4 separate regions of the Homo sapiens genome follow, and regions 2, 3 and 4 are each linked to region 1. The links are contacts of gene promoters, found by promoter capture Hi-C in blood cells and fetal thymus (Javierre and others, 2016). All regions are on one chromosome and are shown on one strand. The core of a region is centred on a gene start or on the middle of the fragment in contact, and the rest is flanking DNA. Distances in the headings are between cores, read along the strand shown. Region 1 holds the start of LINC01551 (long intergenic non-protein coding RNA 1551). Region 2 has its middle 280 kb from the start of G2E3. Region 3 has its middle 300 kb from the start of G2E3. Region 4 has its middle 290 kb from the start of PRKD1.

What was found. Contacts are between HindIII fragments. The CHiCAGO score rates a contact against its expected background, and 5 or more counts as called.
Region 2: a fragment that was not itself captured here is called in contact with the fragment with the promoter of LINC01551 in region 1 in 2 of 17 cell types (M2 macrophages and endothelial precursors); the score reaches 8.4 in M2 macrophages.
Region 3: a contact is called between a fragment that was not itself captured here and the fragment with the promoter of LINC01551 in region 1, in 1 of 17 cell types (M2 macrophages). The highest score is 5.9, in M2 macrophages.
Region 4: a contact is called between a fragment that was not itself captured here and the fragment with the promoter of LINC01551 in region 1, in 3 of 17 cell types (M2 macrophages, endothelial precursors and M0 macrophages). The highest score is 12.8, in M2 macrophages.

The regions. Positions count from the first base shown.
Region 1 is chr14:28,771,137-28,774,253 of GRCh38, reverse strand. It overlaps LINC01551 (long intergenic non-protein coding RNA 1551), which reads right to left and starts at 1,550. Exons shown (of 3, transcript NR_026731.1): 1 at 1,399-1,550; 2 at 821-894. The HindIII fragment of the contact is 5,790 bases long and covers 1-3,117 here.
Region 2 is chr14:30,281,411-30,284,527 of GRCh38, reverse strand. No RefSeq gene overlaps it. Among named protein-coding and RNA genes, the nearest start is that of G2E3, 280 kb to the left of the region's middle. The HindIII fragment of the contact is 2,113 bases long and covers 530-2,642 here.
Region 3 is chr14:30,262,376-30,265,492 of GRCh38, reverse strand. No RefSeq gene overlaps it. Among named protein-coding and RNA genes, the nearest start is that of G2E3, 300 kb to the left of the region's middle. The HindIII fragment of the contact is 3,914 bases long and covers 1-3,117 here.
Region 4 is chr14:30,213,694-30,216,810 of GRCh38, reverse strand. No RefSeq gene overlaps it. Among named protein-coding and RNA genes, the nearest start is that of PRKD1, 290 kb to the right of the region's middle. The HindIII fragment of the contact is 266 bases long and covers 1,415-1,680 here.

The DNA.
Region 1 (3,117 bases), core at 301-2,800:
TGGCGCGTGCTCTCAGCCACTCTGGGACAGAGAGGCTCTCGAGCGTACTACCGACGTCTCCTAAGTGTGCATTAAGAATCAATTATTTGCCTGAGATTTCCAAAGCCAGGAACTGGGATATTCCCAGCAGGGACAAAGTCAAGCCCAGAACGGTGTTCATTTCCCTAGTCTTTCGAAGAGACAGAAGAGAAGACTCCCACACGCACCCAGTGCCTCACCCGACCCGGAGCAGCCCGGCTAAATCCGACCGGGACCCTGGTGTGACCCAGGCCAAGGAGCTGGGGGCGGAGGGCCAGCTCTGGGGAAGGTTGGCTATGTTAGTGTGCAAATAGAGAAGGGCGATCCAAAGAAGAACTTTAGAGAGAAGCAGGTTCTTGGCTCTGGAGCAAAGAGCTTTAACTGAAATAAGGATAGCTAATAAACCTGTCTTTGAGCGTTAAGAACGTCCCGGAAGTTCCTGTAGCAACCATAAGACTCAGAAATCATATTTCCACGAAATGAATTAATTTACACTTTAGGACCTATTTCAGTCTCCCACTACCCCTTCTCCGTATAATTTTTTCTCGTTTTCTCTCCATGTTCCTTTGCCGTGTCTACATCCTTTTGACCTGGGGATTCACCGTGATTTCTGTCAACGTGGAAAAAAATTATGCATCCTTTCAGCTACGTCTGTTGGTAGCGAGCCTGCTAACATTTTCTAAGAAAAGATGAACACTTAAGGCCAGGACCCCAAAGTCAGGCGTTAAAACTCAGTCCAAAGCAGTCAGTTACACATATTCCCTACCCTACCCCTTCCCCTCTGAAAAGCACTTTCACTTACGGATCTTGCTGTAAGAGCCATTCCAGTCCTGATATCCTTTTCCTCGGCATCCTTCGGACAACCTCAGGCAGAGCCTTAGGTGGTGGGGAAAAACAAAAACAAAACACAGTAGAAATCGGGAGGGAGACAAGAGGCACAAAACATAACAATACATCATCTATTTGCCAGCCTGGAGCCCCCTTGGCCTACATCCTCAGGATAAGGTCCCTAGAACTGACCGCTAGGGTGGGGAATGGGTGCCTTTGGGAGCCAAAATCTGAGGTGGGTTATTTTAACTGCTAGTGATTGAGGGGAAAGGGCCCTGAAGGGAGAATAGAAAAGGGGAATGATTGGTATAGAGAAAAGAAATCTTAAAAAAAAAAAAAAAATGCACGCAAAAGAAAATCTAGCATGAAGTACTAACTGGGAAAGATCTCTAGCACCTTTTAACTCTTACAGGTAGGTAGCTCTTAGGAAGAATGCAGACGTGTGTGCCCAAAAGAGAGAATCTAGATGACCTCTATTCTTTCCATATCTCCAGGATCTGGACTTAAGTAGAAAAATAAAGAGGGGAGAATTTTAATTCAAGTTTCACCTACCCTGCTTGTTGGAATGGCTGCGCAGATTTTCATGCTGGAGAGTTCCATCTGTCTGGCAGAAGCTGAAGTGGTGTTGGGGGCAGGTTATCTGGTGAAGTAGGAATGTACAGGAACCCCGCCCTCTAGGCACAGTTACACAACCCCAGCAACCCATCTCAGCCAGTTCTAAAACCTCTAATGATCTTCACCTTCACCCTTTGTTAGTCTAATTCTCCAACAGGCTTTTAGTCTCAAACACAACCAACCACTTTAGCTGTTCATAAAATTAATTTCTCAAAACCAAAATTTTCCCAGTGCATGCAAATTCCTCAACAATGTTGTAGAAAATACACTTTTTAAAAAACTACACTTCTATAGACTTCTAAATATATTGAATTTATCCACGTATTTGGGTGAAATATGCACCAACTTAAATATATATTAAAATCAATACACTATGAGACTAAATTTTTGCCTCTCTGCCTTTGATTTTATGCAAGTCACATAAACTACATGAAGGCTTCCATGACCATAAGGATATTTGTATTAAACCTTGTTAGTTCTAGACTTCATGTTCACTTGGTTCCCAATTTTGTAACAGGCTGAAGAAACATATTTGAAATAATACTTTAACTCCTCTAGTTCAATTACATCATTTTCTCAGTGTTTTACATATTAATATTTTTTGTTAACTTTACAACAGACAAATTCAAGTAAAATACTTTAAACCTGGAAATAAACTTTAATTTGGGATTTCAAGTTTTAAGTTGTGATCAGTTTCAGTTCCAAAATTTCACAAAGGACAACCTTCATCTTATTAAAAACAATTATAATATGAAAGAAAATAATCCTCAAAAGTTTTGAAGTGTATTTCTGACATAAACTAATTTTAACGGTCAAAGTTGGAGACAACAAATAACACAACATTACAACCCGTTCGATGCAAAAATGTATTATATGCCATGCCAGACTGTCATGTGTTTTTTGAGAAGATAAGTTGAGGGATGATAAGATAGATCAAGGGAAATGAGATGTTCATATTGGGCTTCAGGAAGCCTTTACAAAGTTCTCTCTCCATATATCCACCTTCGTGTCTAGTACACCTAACAAACTTCTAGTCATATCCATTATATGTAATTTGGACATGGGTCCAAGCAGAACTCCCACTCCAATACTTCGTTTCTATGAATTCAAAGAAATCAGTTTTACTCTTGACTTCAAAGTATGATGTTTGCCATTAAAATTCTATTTATCTGTCACCCAAATAAACACTTATAAATACAAATAAGTATACTTATTTAATGTGGCCAAAAAAAATACTCATGCAGGAAAACTTTCTTCTATATCTATACCCCTTTACCTTAGCACAAGAGTTCAACTTTCTTTTTAACGTTTGGTAAGCAAAATTCTATGTTTCCCCTGTGATAATACATTCTTATTCCACAAATAAAATCCATGGCAAAAGCAAACAATAAATCATCACCTTTTTTTCAGCTTGGACACATGTCTCTCTTTGAGCTATTTTGGTTCAAAATGTGTAATGGGGATTTCCTTTGCATAAAACCATTCACTTGGACTTTATTACTATTTTTAATATCAGCCATAAATTTGACTTTTAACACAATAATTTTTTGTGAAATATTTTTATGCTTCATTCTGAAGAACTTAAATTTCAAGAAAATTTGGACCTCTGGTGAAACTGTTTTTATACTAAGAAAATAAAATCATGTCTAATTGCTT
Region 2 (3,117 bases), core at 337-2,836, 1.5 Mb before region 1:
TTCCTTGATTTACTTTAAGTGGTAATGCACAACGTATGTAACTTGTGTTTCAATAATATGGGTTCTGTTATGTTAATAAAGAATTTTTTCAGACAAATAAACTGTGTTCAATATTAAAGTGTGCATTTTAATTTTTATGACTGTTGTTAGGATGACAAGCAAATGTGTCGATGGACATACATCATCTCAACTATTGCCTTCATGTCATTACTTGGATTGCAAAAGTAGCCTCAGCCAGAAATAACTATCTTCAGTGCTTGCCTTGTAAATCTAGCCTATTCAGTGGGCACAAAGTCACAGTGGGTCTCCTTCTAACACTTAGTATTCTGCTTTAAATGATTTTAAAAATGAAATGGAGAATTTGGGTTACATATAATTTTTATACATAAACAAGTTGAAAGCATTGGGACCTTATCTTGAGACAAATCAGAATAGCTACTTAAGTTTGAGCAGGCAGATTTCTCTAGGAGTTACTCTGGCAATGATTACTGCCTAATGGGGGCAGCAGAGAGCTAAAGCCCAGGAAGCTTGAGAAATGCTTCTTCAAGGAAAGGTGCCTAACTAGTCAAGAGGTAGGGCCCAGTGAGAGAGGAACCAGAGTCTGGGGATAGATGTTACCGAAAAAGTCCAAACCAAGCTGGGCTGGATCCTAGAAATCAAGAAAAAGGAAGGAAGTTGGACATAAGTAGAAGTGAAAACTCTTGTCAAATCTGGAGGCCAGATGAGCCCTTTTGTGGCAGTGGCTAAAGACTTCCTGGTTGACGCCGCTCAACCTTAAAGGGCTTCGGGCTCTGACACAGACTTTTCAGCTAAAGCCATGTTCCTGAGTTTTAAGAGCCCGGCACTGTGTTGGGCCCAAAGAGAAATAAGATTTAGCTTCCATTATTGAGGGGCTTATAGGTTTTCATTATTGTTGAATACAAAAAGAAAATAGGCTGGGTGTGGTGGCTCACGCCTGTAATCCCAGCACTTTGGGAGGCCGAGGCGGGCGGATCACCAGGTCAGGAGATCAAGACCATCCTGGCTAACACGGTGAAACCCCGTCTCCAGTAAAAATACAAAAAATCAGCCAGGCGTGGTGGTGTGTGCCTGTAGTCCCAGCTACTCGGGAGGCTGAGGCAGGAGAATCACTTGAACCCGGGAGGCGGGGCTTGCAGTGAGCGGAGATCATGCCACTGCACTTCAGCCTGGGCGACAGAGCAAGATTCTGTCTCAAAATAAATAAATAAATAAATAAATAAATAAATAAATAAATAAATAAATGGAATGGAGTAGAAACATACTCTAGTAATGACGCATGACTTCACTGATTCATTTATTCATGTAACACTAGGAAAGCAATGGCACTCTAGTGGGTAGATCGACATTAATAATTATTAACAAAGAAATGTGATATTAGATACTTAATACTGTGAAGGAAAAGTATGCAGCTTTGTGAACATATGTCAGAGAAATTGGATCTAGGCTGAAAATCAGGGAAGGCTTCTCAGAAAATGATGTTGGTATTTCTTAAGTTATGCAAATATGCAAAATGGATCTACATTTATTGAATCATCATTGCTCTGCTATTCATTGCACTATAAGACAGTAGTATGTCATGCATACAGTGAATGCAAAGGAGTTCACATCAAAGGCACCTAATTAGTCCTGAGAATAATGTTTTCCATTAATATAATATTGTTTAAATAATTCCATTAAGCGAAAAGTTTTTCTGATGATAGACATAATTAAATGTTGGAAACCAAGTAATCTATTTAATTTCAAAGGAAAAAATTGTACTCGTTTTTTAAAAAGTTAAAAAATATCATTTAACAGAGAATTCAAAAATAATATTTGAAATAGGCATTATCATAAATCAGACAGCTACTTGAATTAGTCTTCAGAAAAATTTTACATCAGCTTAAAAATCTTACTTTCGTAGACTCTGAAAATTATGAATTTTGTCATTGTAAAGGATTTTATAAGTCATGCTTTTTAGCTCCCTCAATTAACAAATGATGAAAACTGAAGGGCAGAGATTTAAACTGACATATTTGTAGCAACCATACAAGTTTAAAAATATTTAAGAAAAAATTAACTTGTGAATAATTTCAAAATATTTTTTCTGATTTAGGTTAAAATCTTCACTTAAAAATATGTAGAAGGCCGGGTGCCAGTGGCTCACACCTGTAATCCCAGCACTTTGGGAGGCCAAGGTGGGTAGATCACGAGGTCAAGAGATCAAGACCATCCTGGCCAACATGGTGAAACCCTGTCTCTACTAAAAATACAAGAATTAGCTGGGCATGGTGGTGCGTGCCTGTAATTCCAGCAAATCGGGAGGCTGAGGCAGGAGAATCGCTTGAACCTGGGAGGCAGGGGTTGCAGTGAGCCGAGAACACGCCATTGCACTCCAGCCCAAGTGACAGTGTGAGACTCTGTCTTAAATTAAAAAAAAATGTAGAAAATCTTTAAATGTTGAGTCTGAATTCTAGTTTTTAATGAAAAGTAAGCAGCCTTGGTTTTAGTGGAAATCTTCTTTTGTCTAGATTGAAAATTTAAAAAATATTTCTATATTAATAATACAGAATCATCAATTATACACATAAAGGGTGGGAAGGAGTTGATTTCTTCAACAATATTATGAACACATGAGAAAAGCTTTAAAAAGTTTAGTAGGGATAAATAATAATTCTTTATATTTGCCTAAGTTGTTGCATTTTCCAAAGTACTTTTTATATTTACTCACATGGTTCTCACAGAGAGGTAGAAGAAACTAGTGCTAGTATCTTCAGTTTGCAGAAGAGTGACATTCAGAATAGGTCTAAGGGTTAAGAGGACAACCAGGACAATATTATGAAACTCATTCCAGTATACTTCTGTCTGTGATCCAAGGTAAAGTGTTGCCGTTATATCTCTATAAATATGCTGGAATATGGATGCTAACAGAGTTTTTCAAGTTTCTATAAAAAGTGAACAAAATTTACTAATATTTGTTGCTATAGCATACATGTGACCCCTCAGAATTCATATGTTTGAAGCTAATCACAAAGGTGATTGGTATTAGAAGGCAGGGCCTTTGGGAAGTGATTAGGTCATGATGGCTCTACCCTTATGAATGGGATTAATGCCTTTAAA
Region 3 (3,117 bases), core at 288-2,787, 1.5 Mb before region 1:
TTTTATCTCACCTGTGATAAGTGCTGCTATAGCGAAGGCAGAAGGAGTGCTATTAAATAAAGACTAAGAAGGAATTTGCTTCAATTGGCAGAAGACAACCAAAGAATCCACCCAAAGAAGAAAATCATGCTTCCAAATTCATAGTGGTATTCTTGTCTAGTTTATAGTTTGAGAAAGTATTCTGCCATACTTTTCCATTTTTTTCCTAGGCAAAGTTAACATAAAGACATCAAACAGTTCTGATTTATGCTAATTTTTGATCATGGTATTTGAAGAAAGGTTGGAAGATAGAAATATCTTTAAAGGGACACAATAATGGTAAACTTGAGATGCTCCATGTATCTATTATTTACATTGAAAATATTTGCTGGGAGAAAACAACAATATAAGTTAAAAAGAAGTAAATTTGTAATTGGATATAGCTTTGCTAGTAAACCTTTCCCCTCTCATCACCACTGCCTTCTCCTCCATATGAAAGGAAGATTCCATGCCAATTTATCTAAGCAATAGCACTCTTTTGTGGGGAATAACAACCTGGTTAGGAAGGAAAACTTAAGTAGGAGTATAAGACTTGGGCTTATGTCCTTACTCTGCCTCTAACCAGCACTCTGACCACCTTCTCTGGGACTCAGTTTCCTCACAGAATTAGGTGTCAGAATGGATAGTTCTGCAGTTGTCTTCTAGCTCCGAGTTTCCCTGATTCTCTGATCTCTCTCATGGTTTTCCAGAAAATCCTTCTGGTTTCATTTATTTTCACCCTGCCTGCCCCAGGTCTCTGCTGACTGGCTTTAGCAATGGAAGATGTGTAAGTCCAGCTACTAGGAAGCTAAAAGAAATGTATTAAGTGACAGCCAGTCTTTACTCATTCATTCAACAAATATTTACTGAATACGTTCTATAAACTAGGTTGTGAGAATCCAAGGATGAAAATAATTTGGATAATCCTTTATCTACATAACAGGAAATTAGAAAATAGATAGTTGGCTTAATAAATTAGCTCACTCTATTCATATTGAATTGTTTAAAAATATCCCTAGGTGTTTTATATAGGTCTCTTATTCCTGAGCTTTCCTGTCCATGCACTGCATATTCAATACTGTGAAACAGGCAAGCAGGCCTGAACTAAGGCAGAAGGAAGAAAACAAAGCTCCCTTTTATACTAGAACATTTCCTCTTGAGACAGCTGTTTTTGCTAGGAGTTGGCAAAAATACACATCTTATTTTCTTTTATTTGATTTAAGAATTCAATGTGAAAGATTGCATCACATATTGAATTTACTTTTACTCTTTCAAAAATAATACTTCTATTAATTTTAAAAGTAATACAAGTGCATGGTGAAAAATGAAAATATTACAAAAGTTCATGATAGAGAAAAAATTCAAGTGCCCAATTATCCCACTTCCCAAAGATAATTCTTATTAATATTTTGCTTTGTATTCTCTCTCTCTCTCTCCGTCCCTTCTTCCCTCCTTCCGTCCCTCCATATAGTAGTAAAATGTATTATCGTGTCTTTTCACACATATGGAATAGTATAGTTAATACTGAAATTTGACTTTTTCATAGTATATTTTGACCCTTTCCATGTAGATTCATCTCATTCTTTTTAATGACTATGTTGTATTCCACTGAATGGACCTAAGGTGATATAGTCAATTCTCCACTTAACAGATAGCTGACTTGTTTTCAGGTATTTTGCTATTATAAATAATACAGGATGATATCTGTAGTAATATTATCATCATTGCAAAGAGTAATAAATACTCACTAAGTATTTATTAATACTAAGTGCCAGGAACTTTATTATAGACTTTGTAGGCATCATTTCATTTAATTTTCAAAATAATCGGGCAGATGAGGACACTGAAATGCTATGTAACTTGTCCAAGGTCACATATCCAGAAGGTAGTGGAGCTGTGATTTCAACTCAAGTCTGTCTGATTTCAGAATTAGAGCTCGGCATTCACTCAGCAAACATTTTTGTGCACACATTTTTGTATACTTGTGTTAGTATATGTGCAGGATACATTTATAAAGATAAAATTGCTGGGTCAAAGGATGTGCAATATTTAAACTTATTCAAGTATTTTTTAATGGCCCTGAAAAATATTTTTGCCAATGATTATCCCCAATGGTAGTAAGTAAGAGTACTAGTTTCTCCGCACTCTTGCCAACACTTTGTAGCTTCATCTTTTTCCACCAATATAATAGGCAAAAAATTATCTTAGTGTTATTTCAATTTGTATTTTATAAACTTACTTTTTTAGTAATAAAATGTAATATATTTAAAGATCATTTGGTCATCAGCTTTGGAAATATGGCTCATATACCCATAATCTCTCAGTTTTAGAGAGGTTGCATGAAATTCTCAGTTGAGTTTTTCATATTCTTTATCATCTCCATCCAAACTCCTTGGTTTATTTCTATCCCCAGTGCATTTGGAATTTCTTTCTGGGATAAACACACTCAGGTACCATTCTACCAGCAAGTTCCAATTATTCAATCCAGGTCACAGTACTTGGTCAAAGTAACTGACAAAAGAAGGATGGCACTAGCCATTTAAAGCTGACTTTTTAAAAAAAATGATGGTAGTTTTGGGAAGAGAGAGAAAAAGTGACTTTTTAAAATACAACATGATATTTTTAAAAGAAAGCAGAGATCTCAAGGGAAAAACTAACAAAAATAACTTTAAAAGAATAGATGTTCAAAATCATTATGTTAAGTAGGAGTTATTAAAAATACTGCAAAAAGATCAGCTTGTACCTAGAACTTGGTTAAAGCCACAGTATATAGACAGACATTCAAAATGATGAATTTGTGCTATGGCGTTACATCGAGATGCATATAATCACTTACAGCCACTTGTAATTTCTAGAAATGAACACATATTGCCTAAGATTTTTCTAATTGAGCCATATTCTGGAAGCATGACAAAGGCAAGATCCATTTTACTTCATTAAGAAAAACAGGCTCATACTTCATATTTATTCTTTTTGAAAACCACCTGCTGTCATGTCCTTGTGATCTGTAAAATTCTAGCTTTCTATGAGTTAAAACAGGAGTAAAATAATTATATCACCTTGTTTGTTAGATACATTTAAAATGTAGACAGACAGAAA
Region 4 (3,117 bases), core at 298-2,797, 1.4 Mb before region 1:
CACGTTCAGGGAGCGAGTGAAAGAAAATGAAATGTAGTTGGAGAAGGGCCTTGAATGTGTGTGGCTACAGAAATGGATGTGATATTGAGAGGCAATAAGAAGCTATTATGACTTTTAACAGGTAAGCTACGTGACAGCAAACTGGTTGAAAGACTACCCAAACTTCTTTGTAAGAGGAACTGGTACAGGAGTGGAACTGGAAGCTAGGAGAGCTGCCCTAGAAGTTTCTCTGCAACCCAGGCATAAGGCAATGAGGATTTAACCTCATCGTAAACTGGTTGCTGAAGTGGAAATAAAGATGCATATTTGAATGAAATAAAGAAGAAGGAATTTGCAAGTCTTGGGGAAAGATTAAATATCAGGAGTTAAAGAAGGATAACTCCAAAACGAATCTAAGATACTCAGCTTAGCTGAAGATTGGCCATGGTGTTGCCATTGATAGTAATGGACAAACTTGGGAAGTATGCCATTTTGAGGGTGAGAATCATGAATCCAAAGTTTACTATTATAGTGTTGATGGGACAACCAAGAAGAACTATTCTGCTATGCGGATAAATGATGGTATGGGCTTGGAAAGAGTTTGAAAAATCACAGTAGAAATGGAAGATTTAAGACCTTTGTGGAAGTGGAATTATGTGATCAAATTATCATGATCACCATCACTGTCATCATGAAGCATTGTGTGAAGATACAGTGGGAGTGAGTAAATGTGTTTGTAAAGTCACAGACATAGATATGGACAAAATCCAAGTTTAGATATAGTCCTCAATAAGGGAAGAGAAGAAATCAGTAAAACCATTGGAAACAATGAGGTATTTGATAAATAGAATTGGCGAATAGAATAGAGAGTGCTTCAAGAAAGGGTTGTAATCAGGGTGTCATGACGAAGCAATGAATTCAAGAAGGGGGAATGGAATCTGATCATCTAGAGAGGCTAACTTCCTTTTGAGAAAGTCATGAGTTTACAGGCATGGTTAAGTAGGGAGTGGCTGCAGAAGTAGAGACTATAATAAAATAAAGTTTAGAAAGGACAGAATCGAAATCAGAGGAACTCAGAGGTCATCTATGATAACCTCCTCTCCATTTCAGGAGTCACGTTCAGGAGCTGCAGCCCTAACAGATACTCACTCTGTCTTGTTGGAAGGACACCGTCTAATTTGTTAGGCGGTTGATTCTATATTGGGAGATTAGCATATTGGGTTAGTGAATTCTCCATTTCATTGAGATAAAAATACAAAAAGATACAACCACGGAAGGAAGAAATTTGCTGGTAGCAGGAAAGTGTGGAGGGTTCAAGTAAAGTTCTTATATTTATTTTAACTAGAAGAGAGGTTTGTGTATAGTTAAAGGAAAAGAAAAAGAAGCATGAAAGAGGAAAGGGTTAAAGAGTAGCAAGGAGGCGGATGGTGAAGCTTCTTTGAGGCCAGAGGCAGGAAGTGATCAGAGACGCAGATGGAAAGGTTATTTTCATTTGATTTATCCACCCACTAACCGGTGTCTGATATAGTGCTTTTAGCATAGCGTGTGTGCAACACAGAGATGTGCTGATTGATTAATTGAGGAGAAGAAAGGTACTTTTGAGATCCAAGAAAAGATAAAGGGGGGGATTCAGAAAAGGATCTGGGATCTAACGAGTGACACAAATCCCGTGAGCTGAGGAGCAAGACAAATTCAGAAGCTTCACTTTTGGCCACTATAAGGAAAATGGCTGCTGTTTTAGTCAATTTTAAAGATAATGATTTTTTTAAGCCATCTGACTCCTTTGTGCCTTCTATCAGAATTGAAGTAATAGGCAAGTCATTCAGATAAAACTGTCCCTCCTGGAGGAAGAGACATGCCAAGAGAACCTTGGCCAGATGGGAGCTGTAGAAAGGGGCTCAGAGGGGCATTTTGCTTGCCCAGTCAGTTTGGATTTAAACCAGGTGCCTCCAGGGTAGGCCAGAGCTTTGCCAGTCAAGAGCAGGGGTGTAAGCTGCCATTGTGTGAAAACAAGTTAAGTTGCTTGGTTCCAGGGAATGTGGTCCAAGTGTCATAAATGCATCTGTTTAATAATGCATATCAGTAGCTCTTCCAGAATTTGGGTGCCTTGAGCTGCCTTTGTTTCCTCATTTCCAGAAAAATGAACAAGTCCGTGTCTTGACAAAAGCACTAGATGGCAGCATAGGACATCTATTCAACTGTCTCTCTCCACAGGCTGCTGGAATTTTGACAGATACAAAACGGTACCTGTGGTTTTGTGTATAAAACTGGTATAACTGTTTGTACATTTAAAAAATGTAACAATAAATTAAACATAAGGGAAAAGGGTTGCTAATAAATACAGTGTTAGACTGCATTTTTGTATACCAGGTGACAAGCCTGGGCATTCAAACCTGATTTGTGTAGGGGATGGGCAGGATGGGAAGCGAGTTGAAAGAGTTGCAAAATGTACACGCTGGGTGGTTATAGCTTCCTTGAGGGTTGTTGTTGATTTACCCATATGTCTGTGTGCATTCCATAGAGGTGAAAATTTAGGGAAGTGAGGGGTACGATATGTCTGAAAGTCTGGATACAAGGGACTTTGGAAGAAAGCAGCATTCTGTGATTCTCTGACTCACTGTTTTGATGGGTGGAAGGTGAAAGTGTGAGCTCATTATATGTGCTTTTCTTAAAGAGGCAAATAATGCCTCCCCATTTTCTTACTCATCATTTAGAAAGTGGGCCTATGAAGCCTGCACACATTGTAGCCTATAGGACTAGGCTCAGTATATACTATCATCTTTTCTCTTTAGTCTGGATTGATTCACTTCCTTGGTTAGAGCAACTGCTACCTGAGACACTAAGGGCATAGGTTTGATTCCAGTCAGAGTCAGTTGGTATGCTACAGAAAAGAAGAAAACAAACAAAAAAAAAAATCCCAGGATCGCACACGGAAAATCCACTTAACCAGCTCTACAAAGATTCTTCACCACTTCTAGAAAAGTAATTCAAAGCACACATCCTGTCAATATATATGGTCAGAAGCATTATCTTTTTATTCATTCTTTCATTGAACAAACATTTGTCATCTACTATGTGCCAAGCATTGTGCTGGGTAATGAAAGAGATCTAAAAAAACACAAAACCAAACCAAAACAA